2 separate regions of the Homo sapiens genome follow, and region 2 is linked to region 1. Evidence: promoter capture Hi-C in 16 types of primary human blood cells and fetal thymus (Javierre and others, 2016). All regions are on one chromosome and are shown on one strand. The core of a region is centred on a gene start or on the middle of the fragment in contact, and the rest is flanking DNA. Distances in the headings are between cores, read along the strand shown. Region 1 holds the start of PTTG1IP2 (PTTG1IP family member 2). Region 2 has its middle 240 kb from the start of MTERF1.

The links. Contacts are between HindIII fragments. The CHiCAGO score rates a contact against its expected background, and 5 or more counts as called.
Region 2: a fragment that was not itself captured here is called in contact with the fragment with the promoter of PTTG1IP2 in region 1 in 1 of 17 cell types (total B cells); the score reaches 5.4 in total B cells.

Annotation. Positions count from the first base shown.
Region 1 is chr7:90,466,841-90,472,277 of GRCh38, reverse strand. It overlaps PTTG1IP2 (PTTG1IP family member 2), which reads right to left and starts at 2,639. Exons shown (of 7, transcript NM_001365443.2): 1 at 2,347-2,639. The coding sequence starts at 2,491. The HindIII fragment of the contact is 9,262 bases long and covers 2,065-5,437 here.
Region 2 is chr7:91,639,547-91,644,983 of GRCh38, reverse strand. No RefSeq gene overlaps it. Among named protein-coding and RNA genes, the nearest start is that of MTERF1, 240 kb to the left of the region's middle. The HindIII fragment of the contact is 877 bases long and covers 2,568-3,444 here.

The DNA.
Region 1 (5,437 bases), core at 1,390-3,889:
GCATGCTATCGTATACTCCTTTATTTCTTTATTTTGCTGTGCAGGGTTTACATAGTTGCTCTATTGTTTTCATTCTACTAATGCTTGCACAGCTCTGTTCAGACCTTCCATTTGTTCTGATATAGTGTAGGTGAGATCCTAACCACCTTACCATGATCCTTGAGATTTTTTTCAAGAAGCTACAGTTTTATGGCATTTTATGTTCTATTCACTCCATTGTTTTCAGCATTAGACAAGGGGGAGAACTCAAATGAGGCTGTGCCAGGCTTTGTTAGAATATCTGACTCTGCTCTCTCTTTTGAGGTTTGTCATTTTCCAGTGCCAAGGTTTGCTAGAGCTTATCAGAGGTGTTTCCCATTTCCATGAAGGGGTATCTTTGGACTCTAGATCCACCCTCAAATCCAGCTTGTAACGCAGGAACCTGAGTTTCCTTCAGAGAGTCAGGCCCTCTCTCTTCAGGTCCTCATTCCACCTATTTCTCTGCAGTAGCCATTTCCTCTTCTCATCTTCGGAATAAGAAAAAGAATGGATACCCCCTCAACTTGTTTCTCTCCAGATTTGGGAGAATTAATAAAAATTATTGGATTATAGTAACTCACTAGTTACCTCTAAGGGAGAGTGGCAACATTTGGAGTCTTGCCATGCTGTGCTATTCTGTTCTGATCTAGAATCTTCCAGTTCTTTCCTTAGTTGCCACTTATTTTTTGCACTATGCCCCTTTGTTGTCTGGTTACTTTTAGTGAAGAAAATTCTCTAGGTTTCAGTATATTTTTTAATCCAGTCATTAGATTCTAGAAGATTAACCCAAAGTTGCATCAAGTGCTTTCTATAATTTCTTGAGATATTGATTACTAAGCTCTCAAATGTAAATGAACATCAGAGATAGAAGTCCTGGGGATCAAAACAACCTGCTTAGGGGGAGGTCTCACTTGATGTGCAATCCTTCACAAAGTCCTGTCTGTTGCCTGTCACTTAGGGCACAATCTGGGACATAGATGAGGATCTCGTGAAGGCTTAGAAGCCCCTTTTCAGTTTTGGAAGTGAAAAGTATCATGATGTCTAAGAAACCATATCCTTGTTAGATGGGAAGATTAAATGCAAGCACTAAGGGGAACTGGCCTGAGACTAAGATGCAAGCATTCAGGAGAGGCCCTTGGCAGGCAAGGTGTTTCCTTAGAAACATGGGCTCCAGTTGGCCAGCCCTAGAAGTGAGCTAGCTAGCAACAGAAACTTCCATCTTTGGAGATTATCTTAGATGTGATTTTTGATTTATTTTATTTGTTTTCTTTCTTTTTTCTTTTTTTTTTTTTTTTTGTTCTTCATCAGCATTTTGATAAAGTCTTAAGACGTGAAAAATTTCCGGTATGAGTCCAGTTTGCTAGGGAACAAAAGGAAGAATTTGTTTTTATGTTTGGGCCTATGCTTTCAGGTGCTGTTTGTTGGGAGAAGGGGCCAGGATGGCACTGGAACACTATTTCTCTTAGAGTATGTATAGAGGTGACCAAGAGGTTAAAAAAGAGAAATCTGTGGGAAAGATGAAACCAAAGAAAACAAGCTAGCTCTTTTAATTCAGCGTCGCCCCAACCCTACCCCCTCGAAGGAGATTCTTATTTCAGTGCAACGCTGAGAACTGTGGATTTGGTTTTAGTAAGGAAGACTGATTTGCTTACAGATACTAACATTCTTTTCTACTCTGGAAACCAGACAGCAGTAATTATTCTGTCTCATTGTCTTTGTAAAAATGGCAATCTTGGCTTTACAGGGCACTTTCCAAGTAATTCAAATTCTGTCTCTTATTTTGTCTATACGGTTCCAATTTAGGATACTTAAAACCTTATTTCCAGGTTCATGAATTTAACTCAGCATGACTTTTAACATTTCAAAATTTTTTCAATTTGGAAGGAAATCGAGAGAGGCCTCCAAACTGAAGTAATTTTTTTATGAAAAAGAACAAATAAAGCATTTTATTAACTAAGACCTTAAAAAACTTAAGAAAGAGGAACTATGACCATTGAGTGGGTCTGATTAGAACAAAACCCAATGGCTTATTCACAACAAAAAGCTTATATGTCATAGGTCATGCAGAAAGTGATGGGGGAGAAACCATGCTTTTCCTCAAATTTAAAACTTTGAATCTACCTTTCATATTTCAGATAAACCAAATTAATCTGAGTCCAATTTAACTGAGTTTCACCAAAACCATCTAGAACCTTTAAAATGTCTTCCCACCAACACCAAATGACAACTTTTGAGATGAAAATTCCAGTGCACCAGGATGGCACCATTAAAAGGAAAAAAAACGCTGGAGCATGTGGGGCACCCACCTCAGGACTCCAGATCACTCACCCTCTTCATTCCCATCTCTTGGTTTCTGATTGTTCCTGGGGCTGTGGATAAAACCATTCTCTGAGAAGCTGATAAGCAATTGGATGAGAAAGAGGGAGAGGAAAACTGGCAGGAGGATCTGGCCCCATGCCCGCAGCCAGCACATCTCTCTTCAGACCTGGTGACCCCAGCCACTGGGAACCTGGCAGGCACCAGCTACAGTGTTGGACACTGAGACCCGCCCAGAGACTGTGACCTACCACAGCCCTGGGTGCTGAAGCTGCCACTTGCAAGCCCTGGATGCCAGCATAATCAGCAGAACCTTAGAATCCCTAATGTTCTAGCCAGAATGTAGAATGTTCATAGTGCAATCCTCGTCGGCACTGGGTCCAGCTTCCTGGGCCCTGAATACCATGTACAGTTGGTCCACTGGACTTGACTGAGGTCTATTTCTCCCAAATCAACACTTTTCCCTACTACATTGTTGTTTTTTGGAGAAAGACCTGGATTCTAATTCTCACTACTTGAATATGTGTACAGAAGTTGCACTCTTCCATGCTGCCTTTTCTCTGATGTAAATGAACCTACCACCCACTGCACTCCATGGGAGTGGTTGTGCGATCAATGAGTGGTAAGGCCGTGAAACTCACAGCTCTGTAAACCCTTGGTCTTGTCCTTGACTAGCCTGGTGATCCTATTGACGTGCTCTAATGCAGTTTCCTAAAGGTAGGTATGTTTTGGGTAGTACATAAATGTCTTTTATTTTCATAGTTATGAATTTATTTTAATGCGTATTGGAAAAATATAACCAGTAGTTACAATGATGTAATAGCAACGATATATGCTTTTAAAATAAATCTGTGCAAAAAGGACAATTTTCAGAAATATAAATAGTACACAACTTAAAGGATATGGCAAAAATTGGGGAGGTGGTTCCAGAATGACTGAAATTTGAGCAATCTTGCCCCAGTATGTGTGGTTGGGGAGGGGTAGAGGTGGGTGATGAAAACTTGTCCTTGACCAGGAATTATCTTGTTTTGTTTTTCAAAAACGATCAGGTGGGAAGATCGCTTGAGCCAAGAAGTTCGAGGCTGCAGTGAGCTATGATCGCATCAGTGCACTCCAGTCTGGGCAACAAAGCAAGACCTTTTCTCTAAAAAAATTATTTAAAAAAATTTAAAAAACAAATGTTGCAGTTTTCCCATAGTATTCCTGGCATATTGATCTAGACTGCATCCTGAGGACTATGGGTCTAGTATGGACAATAAAGATGGAGGAGGAGAAGATGTGCAGAGTTCCAGGCTAATTTTTCTTCACCCATTTGCAATGCAGAGGACAGACAGAGGGTTATTAGCTATAATATAAAAAGTGCTTTTATAAATTGACAAAAAAAAGGACAAAAGATAAACAATAGGAAAACGGACAAGAGATGTGGAGAATCCATGGACAGAAAAGCAAATCCAAGTAGCCAATGAATATATGAAAAAAATAGTTTAGAAACACTAGTACTAGGAACTAGGAAATTATAAATTAAAACTAATAATGTAAACATCAGGTAGGCAAGCATTTAAAAAGAAAACTAAGATATCATTGGTGAAGTTGTGGGGGAAAAGGTACTATTATACTTTTTGGAGGAACTGTAAATTGTTACAGTGTCTTTAGAAAGCAAACTTGTTGCTTTCTAAAGCAGCCATTAAAATGAAAAATACATATATTCTATGTTCATATTGTTTCTTGGAGACCTGCCCCTCATTGCCTCTCAGTTCTCATGGTATGGGTGGAGTTCCAACTCCTACTTTGGAAGTAGGACATGAAAACTACACCTGAGCAAAGCAGGTCATAAAACTTCCCTGGCCACCATGCCTGGCTCAGGAGTGGGGCACATGACCTAGGTTGGTCTAATCCAAGTCAATCTCAGAGCTTTTGCTAGGAATGCTAGGATAAAGATGCTTGTCTTCCTCTGGATTCAAATTTGGAAGGACTTAGTCTCTGTAGCTGCTAAAAGCCATCATAAGTCTATGTGGGAGATGGGCACGTTGGCTCATGCCTATAATCCTAGTACTTTGGGAAGCTGAGGCAGGCAGATTGCTTGACTCCAGGAGTTCAAGACCAGCCTGGGCAACATTGTGAAACCCTGTCTCTACAAAAAACAAAACAAAACAAAACAAAACACAAAAAATTAACCAGCATGGTAGTGTGCACCAGCTACTCAGGAGGCTGAGGTGCAAGGATCACTTGAGCCCAGGAGGCAGAAGTTGCAGTGAACGGAGATTGCACCACTACACCCCAGCCTGGGTGACAGAACAAGACCCTGTCTCAAAATAATAATAATAAAAGAAAAAAAGACTATGTTGAATATGGCCATTAAAATGCCCATATCAAATTAAAATTGACTGATGGACTCAGCTGCTGTCCCTCAGATGTATCCACCATATTCATCTCAAGGCCATGCTTCCTACAAGCTACTCTCAGGCAAGACTAAACATGGGAAGGAGTACTAATATGGGATACTTTTAGTGGAAGATTTTGGCTTGAAAATTCCCCATCAAAGTGGTTGAAACTTTCTTAGAATTGTGCTGCACTCTGAAACTCTACCAACCAAATTCTCCTTCCTCCTTTCCTCTCTCTTCACTGATGTCAGACCTGCATTGCTGTCTGAAGGTTCTCACCTGCACTAGCTCCTTCCCCTTTATTTTTTCTTTTCTTTTCTTTTCTTTTCTTTTCTTTTTTTTTTTTTTTTTGAGACAGAGTTTTGCTCTCTCTTGTTGCCCAGGCTGGAGTGCAATGGCGCGATCTCAGCTCACCACAACCTCCACCTCCTGGGTTCAAGCAATTCTCCTCTCTCAGCCTCCCAAGTAGCTGGGATTACAGGCATGTGCCACCATGCCTGGCTAATTCTGTATTTTTTTTTTAGTAGAGACGGGGTTTCTCCATGTTGGTCAGGCTGGTCTCAAATTCCTTACCTCAGGTGGTCCGCCCACCTCAGCCTCCCAAAGTGCTGGGATTACAGGTATGAGCTACTGTGCCTGGCCTCTGCTTTATTTTTTGTGTTTCCCCAGTAAAACTCTTGGACTTCTAATCCCATCTTAGCAGATCTTGAAGGACCTGAGCT
Region 2 (5,437 bases), core at 1,757-4,256, 1.2 Mb before region 1:
GTAGAAAGAAGGCAGTTACGGGGTGGGGAGGCCGGTGTGGAACTTCCCGTGGGCTAACACTTGTCCCAGATAAGCTCGGAAGTCAGGCATATCTTTACACCTTTAGGCTTTACCCTCATTTCTTTCCTCTATGTTCACTGTGAATTTTGCTTCTTTTCTGTCCTTCCTTCTCTCATCTTTTCTCCATTTTTCTTGCTGTTTTGTTTGCAGTATATCATATTTCCCTGTGCTCTTTCCTCTTCAGCTGCCCTCTGCTTGAACATGAAAGCTGTTTCCCTTCCCTGTCGCCTCTTCCCTTTGGCCAGCTCTATCCTGGGTACTTTTCTCTCTTTCTTCTCTTCTGGCCCCTGGAGTTTGGAAGTATTCTTCACTATTAGGTGGATGTACCCATGCAGTTCTACGGACTCATTCTGAGCTACTTTCCTTTCTCCCCTAATCTTACTCAAAAATTCCTGTCGATGGCCTCAGTCTCATTCTTGACTTTAGTGGCCGCTATTAGCTTTCAGGCCTGGTTAATATCTCTGTCATACAAATTGTAATATGTTCTTAGGGTGCGTCACTGGTTTCTATAGCTTTCACCAGTTCAAGTGCTCTTGCTGTTCTACATGTACAGTAAATGCAACCAAAGACAACACCAGCTAGATAAACTCTGAAGCAGTGGTACTCTACTGGGTTATTTTGTCCCCCAGGGGACATTTGGCAAAGGCTGGACACACTTTTGGTTGTTACAACTGTGGGGAGTGGGGAGGGATGCTGACACCTAACAGGTAGAGGTCAAGGATTTCGTGAAAAGTCCTATAATGCACAGGACAGTCCCCACCCTGAAAGAATTGTCCAGCTCAAGATGTCAATATTTCTGAGGTTGAGAAGCCCTGATCCAAACGTATTTGTCTTGGAGCTTTCAACTAGGGTGAATATGTAAATAATGAAGGCTAATTAAAAACAAATTAAATTGCAATCACTTAGGAAAAACAATGGGAGAATCTTGAGATGGCACATAGTAAAATGTGCCTGCTTTAATAACAACAAAAATAATTATTTGTGCTTTATTGAGTACTCATTTTCACTTATAAAAATTATACTCATTAGATCTCCCACCCTTCCCAACAACCTGTGAGTTTGGTATTGGAGATACCTTGCATATAAAGAAACTGAGGCATAGAGAATAAGATTACTCTCATAAGGACCCCAGACAAACATCGATTTTAACCAACGGAAAAAAAAAAAAACCCACAGGGCTGTTCTCACAGCTTAACTGGAGCTACAATGGCAGAAAATAAGGGCAGGAACCAAAGCTGCTGTCACAAAGAAAGGACTCTCCCATTTCTCTATTTGGTATTTAAAAATAGGAGAGAAAACGGCATAGCTTGAATCTGAGATAATGCTTGCCGCTTTGTGAATGCTCTTACAGTGCATCGCCTTCGAAACAAATTGGCCCTCGTCTACAAAGGTTTCTTTTTTGTACTCTCGCAAACTCATTTTTAATGGCTTGTGCGGCATCAGTTGTGCCCCTGAGCTGTAATGAAGGGCTCTGCAAGTCACCACAAGCGAGTCAGAAATGAATCTCACGGAGAGGAAAATGCTGGAACGTTAATAGGTTTTAATCCAAGGTAAGCAAACTTATTGAGCCACCACCATATGCTTTATAAAAATCTAAATGTCATGAAATTTTCAGCAGTCTTCCCTTGCCTGCAAATCAGTTTTGGTCCACAGACAGCCAAGTAGGGATCAGAAGGGAAAAATCTCAAATGCACGTAACTGCCCAGGAGCACACCTTGAGGAGTTTACAAGCACCATCCAGGCAAAACAAAGAAATAATTGATGGAGCATAGGAAAAACTGGCGGCTGTGTCAGGCAGGCATCGGAACAGCCTGTGAGTGTGGCAGACATCTTGCAATATATTTGATCCTATCTTCAATATCTTGGGTGGAGAAGGGGTGTTGAAATCTGACGGTCTCTGTTACATGGGGTTTCCCCTTAGGTTTTTATTTCAATGGAAAAGCAGTGTTTGTATATTCTAATTTATTACATGGATCCTAGCCAATTTACGGAGTGAGATTTAATTGCTAAACACCCAATTTTAAAGTTCATTTTCTGCAGTACCTTGGCAGCTTTTGATAGATGTTTGTTCAGAAAATAACAATCTCTGAATATTAAAGTAAAATAAATTGGTTTTTAAAGTGGTGAGCCTTTCTGCTTATGTGGGAATTTGGAGGTGTACTTTGAATTTTCCTCCTCTGCCAGGTGGGTGACAATGAAATACAGAGATAGACTCAGGGCCACACCTTCAGGGTCTTGGGGCCAACAGTCCCCCTTTCAAGGGTCCTTGGGGCCAGCAGATCCTCTTTCAAGTGTCTTGTTAAATGTGTTAATTGCTATAGTAACTATAGGGATGTTCCTGATACTTGAGATAGGATCTCTTCTCTCTTATGGAATGCAAAATGTGTCCCCAATTATAATGCAACAGTTTCAATTAAGCAAAGTTATAGAAATGTTGAAGCCCTGCAAATGAAAGTTTAAGATTTAGCTGTCTTTCCAAGTTTGCATTAAGACATCTTTGCAAAGCTTACTACTTTATGCAAGCCATGATTCCAAGGATCTTATGGCTTTGATACTCATAATACCTTATGAAGTAGGTGCTGTTATCACATCTGTTTTAAAGGAGGAAACAGGCACAGGGAGTTTAAGTAGTTGGTCCAGGGTCACACAGCTCGTAGAGGACATGAGTACAATCTGAATCCAGGCAGTCTATCTCTGGAGCCTCTGTGTGTTCCTAACCACTCTGCCATACAACTTCTCAGAGCAAGTAGCATAAATATATCCACTTAATACTGTATTGCAGAAACTGTAGACCTCTCCTGTTGAATTTTCTTATTCTCTCAGCCTATGAATAACTTGCAACTATTCACAGCCCAATGGGTAAGTGCACTCTATGATTCCCTGTAGATACCTCCTGTCCAGATTGAGCCTCCTCTATATAATGAGAATGTTGGTCCTGCTAGTATTTTATAAAAATGGAAGCTACAGATGAGTCTTAGGTCATTGCCAGAAGTTCTACTATCCTGGGACATGGTGGGAGAGTCAGGATAAAGAATAAAACAACATTGAATGTGTCTTTCCTAAAACCTACCAGATTATAAATTTGGGACAGTCACCAGTAGTCTCAGTGACAGATCTCCATCTTGTGGCTTTGGAAAGCAGAAGAAATGGGAGGAGAAAGATGATTCAGAAGGCTTAGGGTAATGCTTCTCACACTTCAGTGTGCTTTTGAATCTCCCAGATATCTTATTAAAATGCAGATTCTTTTTTGTAGGTCTGGGTTGGGGCCAGAAATTCTAAATTTCTAACAAACTTCTAGGGATTGCTGATGCTACTGGCTCATAGACCATATTTGGCGGACAAGGATCTAGAATAGACCAGCATCATCACCATCACCTGGAAGCTTATTAGAAATGCAGATTCCTGGGTTCTACTCCAGGCCTACTGAATCAGAATCTACACTTCCAAGTGGTTTATATGCACTTTAATTGTTTGAGAAACACGAGTCTAGAGTAGTCTTCAAACCATGAAGATGCACATAACCAATTAGGCACACTTGTAGATGAATTGGCTATGGTGGGAGAGAAGACGGAGAGAGTATAAAGTTCCCAATAAAAGCTTCATTGAAGACTTTCAAATGTCCCTTTTCTTTGTGATCACTTGAATAGCTGAAAAAGTCCCTGAAATACCTCATTCAAAGCTCATTTGCAAAAGTCTGGAGAATCTTTTCATTTTAGAGGTGTTATTCAACTCAAATTGTTTCTCCTTTAGGAGTCTATAACTCAACCACTTGAATATTTTAAAATTTAGAAGAAGGACAGGTCTTTCCCACCAACATCTGTCTCTGAGTGGCATAGTCCTAAGTTTGAGTTGCCAGCAGAATGGACTGTGGCACTGTCAGCCCAGACTAGGGATGATCATAGATACCTTACCCCACCTAGAGAAGCCATTGAGACTTGCACCCAACCCTGACCCTTCCTGCATCAGTGCCCAGGCCCCTTTGGGGGTGAGTGGAATGTGGTGGAAGTGGCTGTGGGGCAAGTTTGCGGAGAGTAAAGTCAGATTGTCTGGGGCACCAGGAGACAGGGAACAGTGGGGACTGAGAACCATCCTTGTGGGGTGGAGAGGTAGTAGGAAGCAGGCCTACACCAAGGCTTCAAGCCCACCAACCATGCTCCATTGTCCTGTTGAATTTCACTTACAAAACACAAATTCAAAGATGAAATCAGAGTATTAAACCCCCAGGGCAGGGCTCTTCTGAGCGCAGGGCACTGTGTAACTGCAGTGGTCACGCTCATGAAGCGGGCCCTGACTCTGGACATTGCTTGCTATCTTTGTGTTTTGAGAATTTATTTACTCTTGCTTTTGCTTGGTCTATATGAAAAACTAAATAATGTTTATGCTAATCTGATAGTCTAATGCAGCGATCCTCCAACCCTGGGCCTGGACTAGCAGCATAAGCATCCCTGGAAAACTTATTAGAAATGCAGATTTGGGGGCTCTACCTCAAAGTATGGAAACAGAATCTCTAGGGGATGGGGTCTAATAACCTGTGGCTTCGACAAACCCTCCTGATGATTCTGAAGCATGCCAAACTTTGAGAGTTTGTTTTTTGTTTTTGCTTTTATAAAATCACAAATTACTTCTGCAGAATTCCCAACAATATTTGGAGGTGACAGTAGCATCAATTTGTGGGCCACGTAGGTATTCCCTACTCTTGCCAGTTTTCTTCCAGTGGGAAAAAAATTTGTTGCAGCACCTGCTGCATGGGATGCTTGAGTTGAAGTGTTCCTAATAGCTGCTTGGAGATGGTGGGAGGGCTTACATATTAAAGGAAATTCAGGTATGGGTTAGAGAGACAGAGAAGGCTTAGCACGGTGGCTTTGGGCTCCAGAGACACCCAACACAAAGAAATCCTAGTTCTCTTTCTAACCAGTGGTGAGACCTTAAGGGAATTATTTACTTTTTTCTGATCCCACTGGGAGCAGTATCTTCAGCCATAAAATGGAGACAATAATGGTGATATCTACTTCATGGGGTTCTTGTGAGGTTTGACTGAGCTCGTGAGTGAAAGTCCTTTTCATACTGCCTGGCACAACAAATGGAAGCTGTTATTCAGGGCATAAAATTATTGTGCACTGATCTAATCATATGATGCACTTATGTATCTATGAATTTTATTGGTAATAATGATTATTTGATATAAATTGAAACATCTTATTTCCATAAAGGTCACTGGAATATATATGTCTTTGTGTATATATGTGTGTATATATATATATATATATATATATATATATATATATATATATATACATACACATACACACACATACAAATGTGAATCATAACAATTCTCCTATGGGATCAGTTTTCTTTTCTTTTTTCATATTTTTAA